2 separate regions of the Homo sapiens genome follow, and region 2 is linked to region 1. Evidence: promoter capture Hi-C in human tissues and cell types (Jung and others, 2019). All regions are on one chromosome and are shown on one strand. The core of a region is centred on a gene start or on the middle of the fragment in contact, and the rest is flanking DNA. Distances in the headings are between cores, read along the strand shown. Region 1 holds the start of SOCS1 (suppressor of cytokine signaling 1). Region 2 overlaps ZC3H7A (zinc finger CCCH-type containing 7A).

Evidence for each region. The method cuts DNA at HindIII sites, captures the fragments that hold promoters and counts their contacts. A contact is called where the count stands out against the background at its distance.
Region 2: a contact is called between a fragment that was not itself captured here and the fragment with the promoter of SOCS1 in region 1, in 1 of the 25 tissues and cell types used here (aorta).

Annotation. Positions count from the first base shown.
Region 1 is chr16:11,252,679-11,257,987 of GRCh38, reverse strand. SOCS1 (suppressor of cytokine signaling 1) reads left to right here and starts at 1,784. Exons shown (of 2, transcript NM_003745.2): 1 at 1,784-1,909; 2 at 2,460-3,571. The coding sequence starts at 2,510. The coding sequence ends at 3,145. All of the region lies in intron 1 of LOC105371082 (a long non-coding RNA gene), which reads right to left. RefSeq lists silencers at 1,139-1,338, 1,589-2,328, 2,429-2,478, 2,489-2,638, 3,049-3,138 and an enhancer at 3,749-3,918. The HindIII fragment of the contact is 22,451 bases long and covers 1-5,309 here.
Region 2 is chr16:11,774,876-11,780,410 of GRCh38, reverse strand. It overlaps ZC3H7A (zinc finger CCCH-type containing 7A), which reads left to right. Exons shown (of 23, transcript NM_014153.4): 4 at 1,048-1,245; 5 at 3,502-3,660; 6 at 3,879-3,959; 7 at 4,053-4,091; 8 at 5,398-5,431. Among named protein-coding and RNA genes, the nearest start is that of ZC3H7A, 20 kb to the left of the region's middle. The HindIII fragment of the contact is 4,281 bases long and covers 379-4,659 here.

The DNA.
Region 1 (5,309 bases), core at 535-3,034:
TCTTGGCCTTCCAAGTGCTGGGATTATAGGCATGAGCTACTGCGCCCTGCTAGAGGTACTATTATTATCCCCATTTCACAGATAAAGAAACCATGGCAGAGAGGTTAATTACATGCTCAAGGTCACAAGAATAGAAAGGTGCAGATTTGGAACTGGGTCTCCTTGTATTCCATCACCCTCCACAGAGTGTGGCCTCCAGCAGATGTTCAGTGGACATCTCTCGAATGATCACACACCTGACCTCTGGTGCAGGCAAGGTTCTGCATCTTCTCTCACCCCCTCACGCACGCGCACGCACACACACGCACAACCTAGGAGGCTACACCAATGACCACCACCAGCCCTGGCCACATGCAGATTCAGGGCACTGATGGGGTGCTAAGCTGGGCTGATTCTGGGCCACTCCCTGTGTTCAGGAGGTTAATAAGGACCTAGGCTCTGCCTGGGGAAAGAGGTATCGTGGGGCCAGGGAGGCGGGAAGGGACTGGGCACCAGGGCTTCCAGGAGAGAAGCCGTCTGAGAGCTGTCTGTAGAGGGCAGTGTGTCCCAGTGTGAGGCCAGTAACCAAGTGCCCAGCCTAGCCAGGTTTTTATGTGGCCCCTTGTGATGCTGGGGCTCCTCACATGCCTTCATTCAAAAATACACGGAGCAGCCAGGCACCTACTCCATGGCCTCGCACGACAATCGGAATCACTAAATCACAAACACGTGTGCAAATTACAGCCCCGACCACCGACCGCCCACCATCCCAAGCCCCGGCCGTGTGTGTGGTGGGAAGGCAGTCTTTGAAGGGCAGATGCCTGACGGAGCAGTAGGAGGGGGAAATCTATGAGGAAGGGGTCGGGGGAGAGGAGGGCTAGGAAACCAGGTTTGGGGATTCATCACGTCTGAGAATGCACCATTTTTTCACTGGGCTCCAATTTGATGTCGTCCAGCTGCACCTCTCCCCAAAATGAAGACGGGGAAGGCGAGATCCAGGTCCAGAGCTCCCAATCTGCAAGCCATTGCAAATCCCAGCCCCTCCCCAGCCTCAGTTTCTTCCGCAGCCGGGTAGTGGGAGCGCAGGGAGGGCAGTCGAGGCCACCAGGGACCTTGCCCGGCCCCGCCCAGTTTCCGAGGAACTGGGCCGGGGTGGAGGCGCCCGCGCCGCCAGGGGTTCCTCTGAAGCCTGTGGTCAGGCCGCCGCTTCCCGGGAAGCCCGAGCCAAGACCAGAGACCGCGGCCGGCCGGGGCTTCGGGACAGCAGGGCGGGCGACTGAGGGCGTCGACGGCGGGTGGAGCAGGGGCTAGGAGGGGGTCTACGGGTGGGGTCAGGCTCAGGGTTGGGGACACCTTCTGTGGCCTCCTAGGGGGATCTGGCTGCAGGGGAGGAGAGGACAGGGCTCTGCCCCCGGCGGGTGTGGAGACAGCTGGGGCGGAGGAGGGTGTGTCAGGGCGCGTCCCAAGAGGGCCTGGCGGCAGAAAGTGGAACCCGAGGTAGCGGGGCAAAATCGGGGTCGCCAAGTCCGAAGGAGGGGTCCGAGAAGTGGCCGGAAGGCGCAGGGTCGGGGCCAGAGCCCCTCGAGAGGCGGGTGCTGGGGCAGGTGCGAACAGGCGGGCAGAGGGCCCCGCGGGAGGGTCCAGAAGAGAGGGAAACAGGGCCGAAGCGGTCCTCGCCGGACGCCACCGCGGAAAGAGAAACCAAAAGTGGAGCTGGGGGCGGGGCCGGCAGGGGGCGGGGCCTCCCGCCGTCGCCAGCCCCGCCTCCGAGCCGGTTTAAAAGACTGGCGCAGGGGCGGGCGCCGAACAGAGCGAGCTGCGGCCGTGGCAGCTGCACGGCTCCTGGCCCCGGAGCATGCGCGAGAGCCGCCCCGGAGCGCCCCGGAGCCCCCCGCCGTCCCGCCCGCGGCGTCCCGCGCCCCGCCGCCAGGTGAGCCGGGCCCTGGGCGAGGAGGCGGGAGGGAGGAGGGAGGGGAGTCCAGGGCAGCCAGGAGTCGGGCGAGCCTCGGGGGCTGCAGAATGGGGTCGCGGCCGCGATGCCCCTGACCCTCGCCGGCCCCACCCAGGCCGCCCCCCGCGCGCGGGGCTCCCGCAGCACAGCCTTTCTCCGGCCCTAGCCCAAATCGCCCAGACCAGGCGCGGATCCCAGCCTGGCCAGCAGGCGGCGGGCGCGGGGCGGCGAGCCGGGGCCGGACGGCTGGAGCCAGAACCGGCTGCTCTCCACGCCCCCCTCTCGGTGCTGCCCGGAGGCCGGACTCCGCCTCCACCGAGCCCCCACCCGCCGGGAAGAGCTCCGCGGAGTACAGAGCCCATTTTCTAGCTGTGTCCACTGAGGCTGAACGGATCCGCGCGGACTTGGTGCTCCGTGCTCGCCCCCTAGGGCCGGGTCCGCCGGGAGCGCCGCCCTCCGGAGTTGTCCGGCCGGCGCACACCTGCCCGGCCCCGCAGCGCCCCAGCTCACCTCTTTGTCTCTCCCGCAGCGCACCCCCGGACGCTATGGCCCACCCCTCCGGCTGGCCCCTTCTGTAGGATGGTAGCACACAACCAGGTGGCAGCCGACAATGCAGTCTCCACAGCAGCAGAGCCCCGACGGCGGCCAGAACCTTCCTCCTCTTCCTCCTCCTCGCCCGCGGCCCCCGCGCGCCCGCGGCCGTGCCCCGCGGTCCCGGCCCCGGCCCCCGGCGACACGCACTTCCGCACATTCCGTTCGCACGCCGATTACCGGCGCATCACGCGCGCCAGCGCGCTCCTGGACGCCTGCGGATTCTACTGGGGGCCCCTGAGCGTGCACGGGGCGCACGAGCGGCTGCGCGCCGAGCCCGTGGGCACCTTCCTGGTGCGCGACAGCCGCCAGCGGAACTGCTTTTTCGCCCTTAGCGTGAAGATGGCCTCGGGACCCACGAGCATCCGCGTGCACTTTCAGGCCGGCCGCTTTCACCTGGATGGCAGCCGCGAGAGCTTCGACTGCCTCTTCGAGCTGCTGGAGCACTACGTGGCGGCGCCGCGCCGCATGCTGGGGGCCCCGCTGCGCCAGCGCCGCGTGCGGCCGCTGCAGGAGCTGTGCCGCCAGCGCATCGTGGCCACCGTGGGCCGCGAGAACCTGGCTCGCATCCCCCTCAACCCCGTCCTCCGCGACTACCTGAGCTCCTTCCCCTTCCAGATTTGACCGGCAGCGCCCGCCGTGCACGCAGCATTAACTGGGATGCCGTGTTATTTTGTTATTACTTGCCTGGAACCATGTGGGTACCCTCCCCGGCCTGGGTTGGAGGGAGCGGATGGGTGTAGGGGCGAGGCGCCTCCCGCCCTCGGCTGGAGACGAGGCCGCAGACCCCTTCTCACCTCTTGAGGGGGTCCTCCCCCTCCTGGTGCTCCCTCTGGGTCCCCCTGGTTGTTGTAGCAGCTTAACTGTATCTGGAGCCAGGACCTGAACTCGCACCTCCTACCTCTTCATGTTTACATATACCCAGTATCTTTGCACAAACCAGGGGTTGGGGGAGGGTCTCTGGCTTTATTTTTCTGCTGTGCAGAATCCTATTTTATATTTTTTAAAGTCAGTTTAGGTAATAAACTTTATTATGAAAGTTTTTTTTTTAAAAAAAAATAAGTTTTCTAGCGAGTGTGCTTTGGCCAAAAGTTTAACTTGGTTCTGAACAGGTCCAGGGGAGAGGGTCCTAAGGCTGACCTGCTGGGCTGCAGGTGGTGTACGGGGCCTGCCCTGTGGCTGGGCATCCCTCACGGTTCCACCCACAACTCTCCAGGGAGAGAAACGGTTGGTCTAGTTTTGGCGTGTGTCCGGTAAGACAGCAGCTCGCGTTTGAGCACTTTGTGCGTGCCAGCCCTAATTCTGTGCTTTGCATACTTAAATTTACTTAATCCTATAAAGAGAGGCACAACCCTGTGAGGCACGGGCTCTTATTTCCATTCTACAGAAGGGAAAACTGAGTAAATCTGCCTGTGGCCATTCCTGTCAAAGACAACACTTGGGCCTTTTTTTGGCTGTCCACTAAACATCTGCTTGAAATGGATAACAGAGAGGAAACTTCTTTGGTTCTATGACCACAACAGCTTCCAGGAAGGGGTGGGGGTGGGGGCTTAGTGAGTTTTTGGACAGAGGAGTGGCACATTCTGAACCAGCATCAAGGGATACTCAGTTGAGATGAGATGGGGGATACAGGGCTGGGTCTAGCTTCCTTCTTCTCACCCTGCTCTGTCTTGTGTACTTTTTGGTGAACACACAACTTGGAGCCAGAAGGAGACTGTGTGGTCTGTGGTGGCGGGAGGGTGCTGCTGGCGGCTAGGGCAATTCCCCTTGCCTCCCTGGGCCTCCACCTTTCTAAGGGCAACTTTCTGCGCATCATAGAGGAGGTGGATGTTTTCAGGAGCCAGGGAAGGGAAGAGTGGCTCCAGGACGTTTGTGGGGCTGGCCCACAGCACCAGAAAGTGTCCAGGACCTGGGTTTCTGGCAACTTCTGTGTCTTTGGCCAGCCTGACACATGGGCCATGGTGGTAACTTGAGGGTTGTACTCAACACATGGTGAACTGAGTCATTTTCAGATTTAGGGTTAAGCAGCCTGGTGGACACGTCATACTTCATCTTTAGAAGATAGAGTGGCCCTCTTCAGCCTTGGAGACACATATAATAGTGTTCTAATGCTTAATAATACTTTTCAGACTTGAAAGTACAACATAAAATTAACTTGATGGTCAGAGAGTCAGAGCAGCCCAGGCCTGTCTTGGGGATTAAGTAGGCTCCAGGACTTTAAGGATGGCCAGAAGAGATTTAGGATCTCAGAGAGCTTTGGCAATTTCATCCCTTAATAAGGTGAAGTGGGAGGGAAGGAGGTGATGTCTTGTCTCTATCTCCAAAAATCTTGCTTTTTCTTTTCTTTTCTTTTCTTTTCTTTTCTTTTTTTTTTTTTGCCACACCCCTGCCCTTTCTTCTCTGCTGTGGATTAATTAAGTCCTGTCCTTGTTCTTTCCTGTCTGTTGCCTGCTGTGGGCAGTGTCTGGAGAAACAGAAATCCAAGATGGCAATGCTTGGGGATCTGGTTGTAATACTAGTATACTCACAGACCCTTAGTGACCACTCAGTGGCTGTGCTGGCCCCATTTTACAGATGGGAAAACGGGCTCCAAGAGGCAAAGCAGGACCACAACAAGGGGTGGAGCCAGGTTTTGCAAACCCACTCAGGACTTTTTCAGAGGCTGGGTACCACTAGGCAACCGGAGGACCTAACCGCTGCAGTAATAATAGCAGCTGCTCATATTTCTATGTAGCATTGTCTGTGCAGGAACTGCTCCCAGGTCCCGCATCACCTGTGTAAAACATTG
Region 2 (5,535 bases), core at 1,270-3,769, 520 kb before region 1:
GGTGGCTCACACCTGTAATCCCAGCATTTTCGGAGGCTGAAGCAGGCGGATCACTTGAGACCAGGAGTTTGAGACCAGCCTGGGCAACATGGCGAAACCCTGTCTCTACTAAAAATACAAAAATTAGCCGAGTGTGGTGGCAGGTGCCTGTAATCCCAGCTACTCGGGAGGCTAAGACACGAGAATCACTTGAACTCAGGAGGTGAAGTCGCAGAGAGCCGAGATCGTGCCACTGCACTCCAGCCTGGGTGCCAGAGTAAGACTCTGTCTCAAAAAAAAAAAAGAAAAGAAAAAAAAGAACTAAACTAAAGCGTGATAGAAATAATGAAGGAAAATGACAAACTTTTATACATGCTAAAAGAATGTGTATACTTACTTGATAAGAAAAAAGTTTAACATCCCCCTCCCCCCAAATCAGTAAATGACCTGAGCAATTTACAGAAAAAGAAATACAAGGGGTCCGTAAAAATGTGGAATAGTTCAACTTCACTGGTAAAGACATGCACATACAAAGAGGATACCATTAAAAAAAATAAATAAACACAAAACGATACCATTTTCCACCTAGAAATTGGTAGATTTTACATATATGTGCACGGGTACCCACACACGTGTACACACACACACACTACCTAGTGTGTATGGGTGCTATAAAGTAAACCACTAGAAACATTTTTCATCATGGCCTTTTTGGAAGGCAATTTGGAAATACTGCTCAAAAGCCTTAAACTATTCATTCTCTTTGACTTGGGGCTTCCACTTGGTTTCTCTAGCGGGCACAGAATTGGAGATGTGAACAAATATTTATAAGGTACTTTGCTGCATTTTTCTTAATAGTGAGAAATTGAATTTCCCCTTGAAAAAGCAAGCAAGATTCAATCCCTAGCTGAGATAGCAGTGACTTGGGCTGCATCTCACAATTTCTTAGAGCAATGCTGCTGTTCTGTCACATTGTTTCCTGTGAAGTTTTAGGTATAAAAATTAAAATTTACTTATACCATATCTTGTTTGATAAAAGGCTTCAAGTGGTAACTTTCTTTTTTTTAGGTATATTTGCGTGCTCTCGTGAGAAATCTTTTTAATGAAGGAAATGACGTTTATCGGGAACATGATTGGAACAACTCGATAAGCCAGTACACGGAAGCCTTGAATATAGCTGATTATGCAAAATCTGAAGAAATTTTAATCCCCAAAGAAATAATTGAAAAACTATATATAAATCGTATTGCCTGCTATTCTAATATGGTGAGTTGTAATTTTTAAAATGATGTTTCTAGAGTGAAAAGAATTTTTTCAATGACTTAGTACATTAATAAAAAGTCAATTTCTTAAGTTTTTAAGAAAGTCATATTACCTGCTTTTGGAGTGGCTTGAGGCTTTTAAAAATTAGCTTTGGATTGGCCGGGCACGGTGGCTCACGCCTGTAATCCCAGCACTTTGGGAGGCCAAGGTGGGTGGATCATGAGGTTAGGAGTTTGAGACCAGCCTGGCCAATATGGTGAAACCCCGTCTCTACTAAAAATAAAAAAATTAACTGGGCATGGTGGCGTGTGCATGTAGTCCCAGCTGCCCGGGAGGCTGAGGCAGGAGAATCGCTTGAACCCAGGAGGCGAAGCTTGCAGTGAGCCGAGATTGTGCCACTGCACTCCAGCCTGGGCGACAGAGCAAGACTCCGTCTCAAAAAATAAAATAAAATAAAAAAATAAAAATTAGCTTTGGACAGAAGGTTAGGGATTTAAGAAATAATTTGTTTCTTAGTTATTGGTCCTTGATGATTCCCATTTGAGTATGGCTTTTGAAGGTGTGTCTGCTTATAAAAAAGTCATCCAGGGAAGATACAGGTCTTCACAGGTCAGTGTGTCTTTCAGGTATCCCTGTTCACAGTTAACATCTTAGTCAAGATCCAGTTGATCTTGTAAAACACTCTTGGTAAAAAACACTCTTACGAGTGTTTTTTTTTTTTTTTTTTTTTTTGAGACAGTGTCTCGCTCTGTCACCCAGGCTGGAGTGCAGTGGCACGATCTCGGCTCACTGCAACCTCCGCCTCCTGGGTTCAAGCAATTTTCCTGCCTCGGCCTCCCGAGTAGCTGGGACTACAGGCGCATGCCGCCGTGCCCAGCAAATTTTTTGTATTTTGTTAGAGATGGGGTTTCACTGTGTTGCCCAGGCTGTTCTCGATCTCCTGAATTCAGGCAATCTGCCCGCCTCAGCCTCCCAAAGTGCTAGGATTACAGGCGTGAGCCACCGTGCCTGGCGAGTGTTTTTTTAAATCAAGAAATAGTAATTAGTCTTCAAAGGAATTCACACTAGATTTTCACATTTTTAAGCTTAAAAGCTTTTGAAGTGCTTTTTTTTCTTTTTTTCCTTTTAAAACTTTTTTTTTTTTTTTTGAGACAAGAGTTTCACTCTTGTTGCCCAGGCTGGAGTGCAATGGCACAATCTTGGCTCACCGTAACCTCCGTCTCCCGGGTTCAAGAGATTCTCCTGCCTCAGCTTCCCGAGTAGCTGAGATTACAGGCATGTACCACCACACCTGGCTAATTTTGTATTTTTAGTAGAGACGGGGTGTCTCCATGTCGGTCAGGCTGGTCTCGAACTCCTGACCTCAGGTGATCTGCCCGCCTCAGCCTCCCAAAGTGCTGGGATTACAGGCATGAGCCACCACGCCTGGCCACCTTTTTTAAATTTTTGAGATGGAGTGTCACTCTGTTGCCCAGGCTGTAATGCAGTGGCACAATCTCGGCTTACTGTATCCTCTGTCTCCTGGGTTCAAGTGATTTTCCTGCTTCAGCCTCCCGAGTGCTGGGATTATAGGCACCCGCCACCACGCCTGGCTAATTTTTGTATTTTTAGTAGAGATGGGGTTTTTACCATGTTGGCCAGGCTGGTCTCGAACTCCTGACCTCAGGTGATCCACCCACCTCGGCCTCCCAAAGTGCTGGGACTACAGCTGTGAGGCACTGTGCCCAACCTGAAGTGCTTTTAATTTTCACTGTGGATACTCGGTAAAATATAACCATGAATTTAAGAAAAATATCCGTGTTGTCACCTAGCTCTTTGTTAAAGAGCATTCATTGTTTATTTATTTTGTTTTGGGTAATATATTCCTTATCAGTTAGCTGTTTGGAGTTACGTTTCTGTTTGACATCTTAATGTGCTCCAGCAAAGGGTAACTACAGAGGAGCGAATAGGAGAGGGACACATGGGGACATCAGTTAGGTCTGGAAAGCTTTATTTCTTGAAGATCTGGGGACTTTCTGACCAAATATTAGCATTTGTCTGACCTGGATGGTGTGTACATGGGTATTCATGATATTCTTTCTACTTTTTTGTATTTGAAATTTCATAAAATAATTTAAAAAATAAAAGTAATACTGCTAACTTGGAGTTTAGAGGGAGGGTAATAGGATGGGGTATTAATTTGTTTTTATTACAGGAAGGCCTCAGTGCAAGAAATGAATTGTTTGATTGCTGACTTTATTCTTTGGTCTTACACACCAGGGTTTCCATGATAAAGTTTTGGAGGACTGCAATATAGTCCTCAGTTTAAATGCCAGTAACTGCAAAGCTCTGTATCGGAAATCTAAGGCTTTAAGTGATTTAGGAAGATACAAAAAGGCTTACGATGCTGTAGCAAAGTGCTCCTTAGCAGTGCCTCAGGTATGGAATTTATAGTTTATTTGTTTACATCGTAACCATTTACATCATAATAAATGGCATTTAAAGAGTTAAATTTTCCAGTCATCCATCAACCTGCTTCAGTTGGGTATAAATGCTAATGAAGCAGGTGTCTTGATGGGAAACTTCCCTGTTTTGTCTATTCTTCTTCACCATTAGTAAATATAACCCTGTTAATTATACATACTTATTTTTTTCAGGATGAGCATGTAATAAAACTAACTCAAGAACTAGCTCAGAAATTGGGATTTAAAATAAGAAAAGCGTATGTCAGAGCTGAGGTAAGCTGGAGTTCTCTGCATAAGGTGTTTTCATTTTGTTTTAGAACTTGGAGTCAGTTCTGTTTTTAAATTAGTGTCTTTATTTTATTTCAGCTCTCATTAAAATCAGTTCCTGGGGATGGGGCTACCAAGGTAAAGTTATTTTTTCTGTCAAAATTATATTTTTTTTTAAAGGGAAGGATGGGAGCAATTCTACTTTTAGTATTTTTGGTGTGTGTTTATTTTTGGAACCTTTTTAATTCCTCAAACACGTAATTGGCAATACCCTCCTGTCACTTTATTTATTTTTTTGAGACAGAGTCTTGTTCTGTTGCCCAGGCTGGAGTGCAGTGTCCTGATCTTGGCTCACTGCAACCTCCACCTCCTGGGCTCAAGTGATCCTCCCACCTCAGCCTCCCGAGTAGCTGGGACCACAGGCACACACCACCATGGCCTGTTAAATTTTTGTATTTTTTGTAGCGATGGGGTTTCACCATGTTGCCCAGGCTGGCCTCAAACTCCTGAGCTCAAGTGTTCCTCCTGCCTTGGCCTCCCACCAAATGCTGGGATCACAGGCGTGAGCCATCTCTTCTGGCCTCTTCTAGTCACTTTACAAAAGAACATCTACAACTCAAGTAATATATTTTAGCTGTAACCAGCATTTCCTGAATGCTCCAGTGGGGCATTTTATAGGATGTTAATAGATGTTAGGTTTCAGTGCAATAAGAGTGGTTCAGGGCCAAATACTAGTTTTGGGAGTCATTTGTGATAAAATTAACAAAGGGTTTTTTTTTGTTTTTGTTTTTAATTTTAAAATTAAAATTTTCTTGGGGCTAATAGGATGCTAATGGCTATTGTGAGTTGGGCAATGATTGGTGGCCAAATTCATCCCTGTTATTCTGCTGAATAGCCTTTGAGAAATGCTGGTCCACGAGAAATAAGTGGCAGCACTGCTAGACCAGCACCTCACCTAACACCACATGTATACAGGTTTGCGTGTTCCATTCATTTCTTGGATCTTAATTGGGAGTTGAATTTCTGTGGAAACCTGCATTGTTCTCTTAGGGTGAGTTTTTTCTTTTTTTCTTTTTTTTTTTTTTCCAAGACAGAGTCTCGCTCTGTCACCTAGGCTGGAGTGCAGTGGCGCTATCTCAGCTCACTGCAGCCTCCACCTCCCGGGTTCAAGCAGTTCTCTTGCCTCAGCCTCCTGAGTAGCTGGGATTACAGATGCCTGCCACCATGCCTGGCTAATTTTTGTATTTTTAGTAGAGACAGGGTTTCACCATGTTGGCCAGGCTGGTCTCAAACTCCTGACCTCGTGATCTGCCTGTCTCGGCCTCCCCAGGTGCTGGGATTACAGGCGTGAGCCACTGTGCCCGGCCTAGGGTGAGTTTTACTGATTGTTTTATGGCTTAGAGTCCTGAAAATATTATAACCCATTGTTTGGTTTAATTTCTAGGCTTTGAACCATTCTGTGGAAGATATTGAGCCAGGTATGTTTTCACATATCATCTTAACAATTTGAATAGTGCCAGCTTTGTACCTGATGTCTTTGTATGTGATGTATTGTCAAATAATATCGCTGTGTGGTTATATT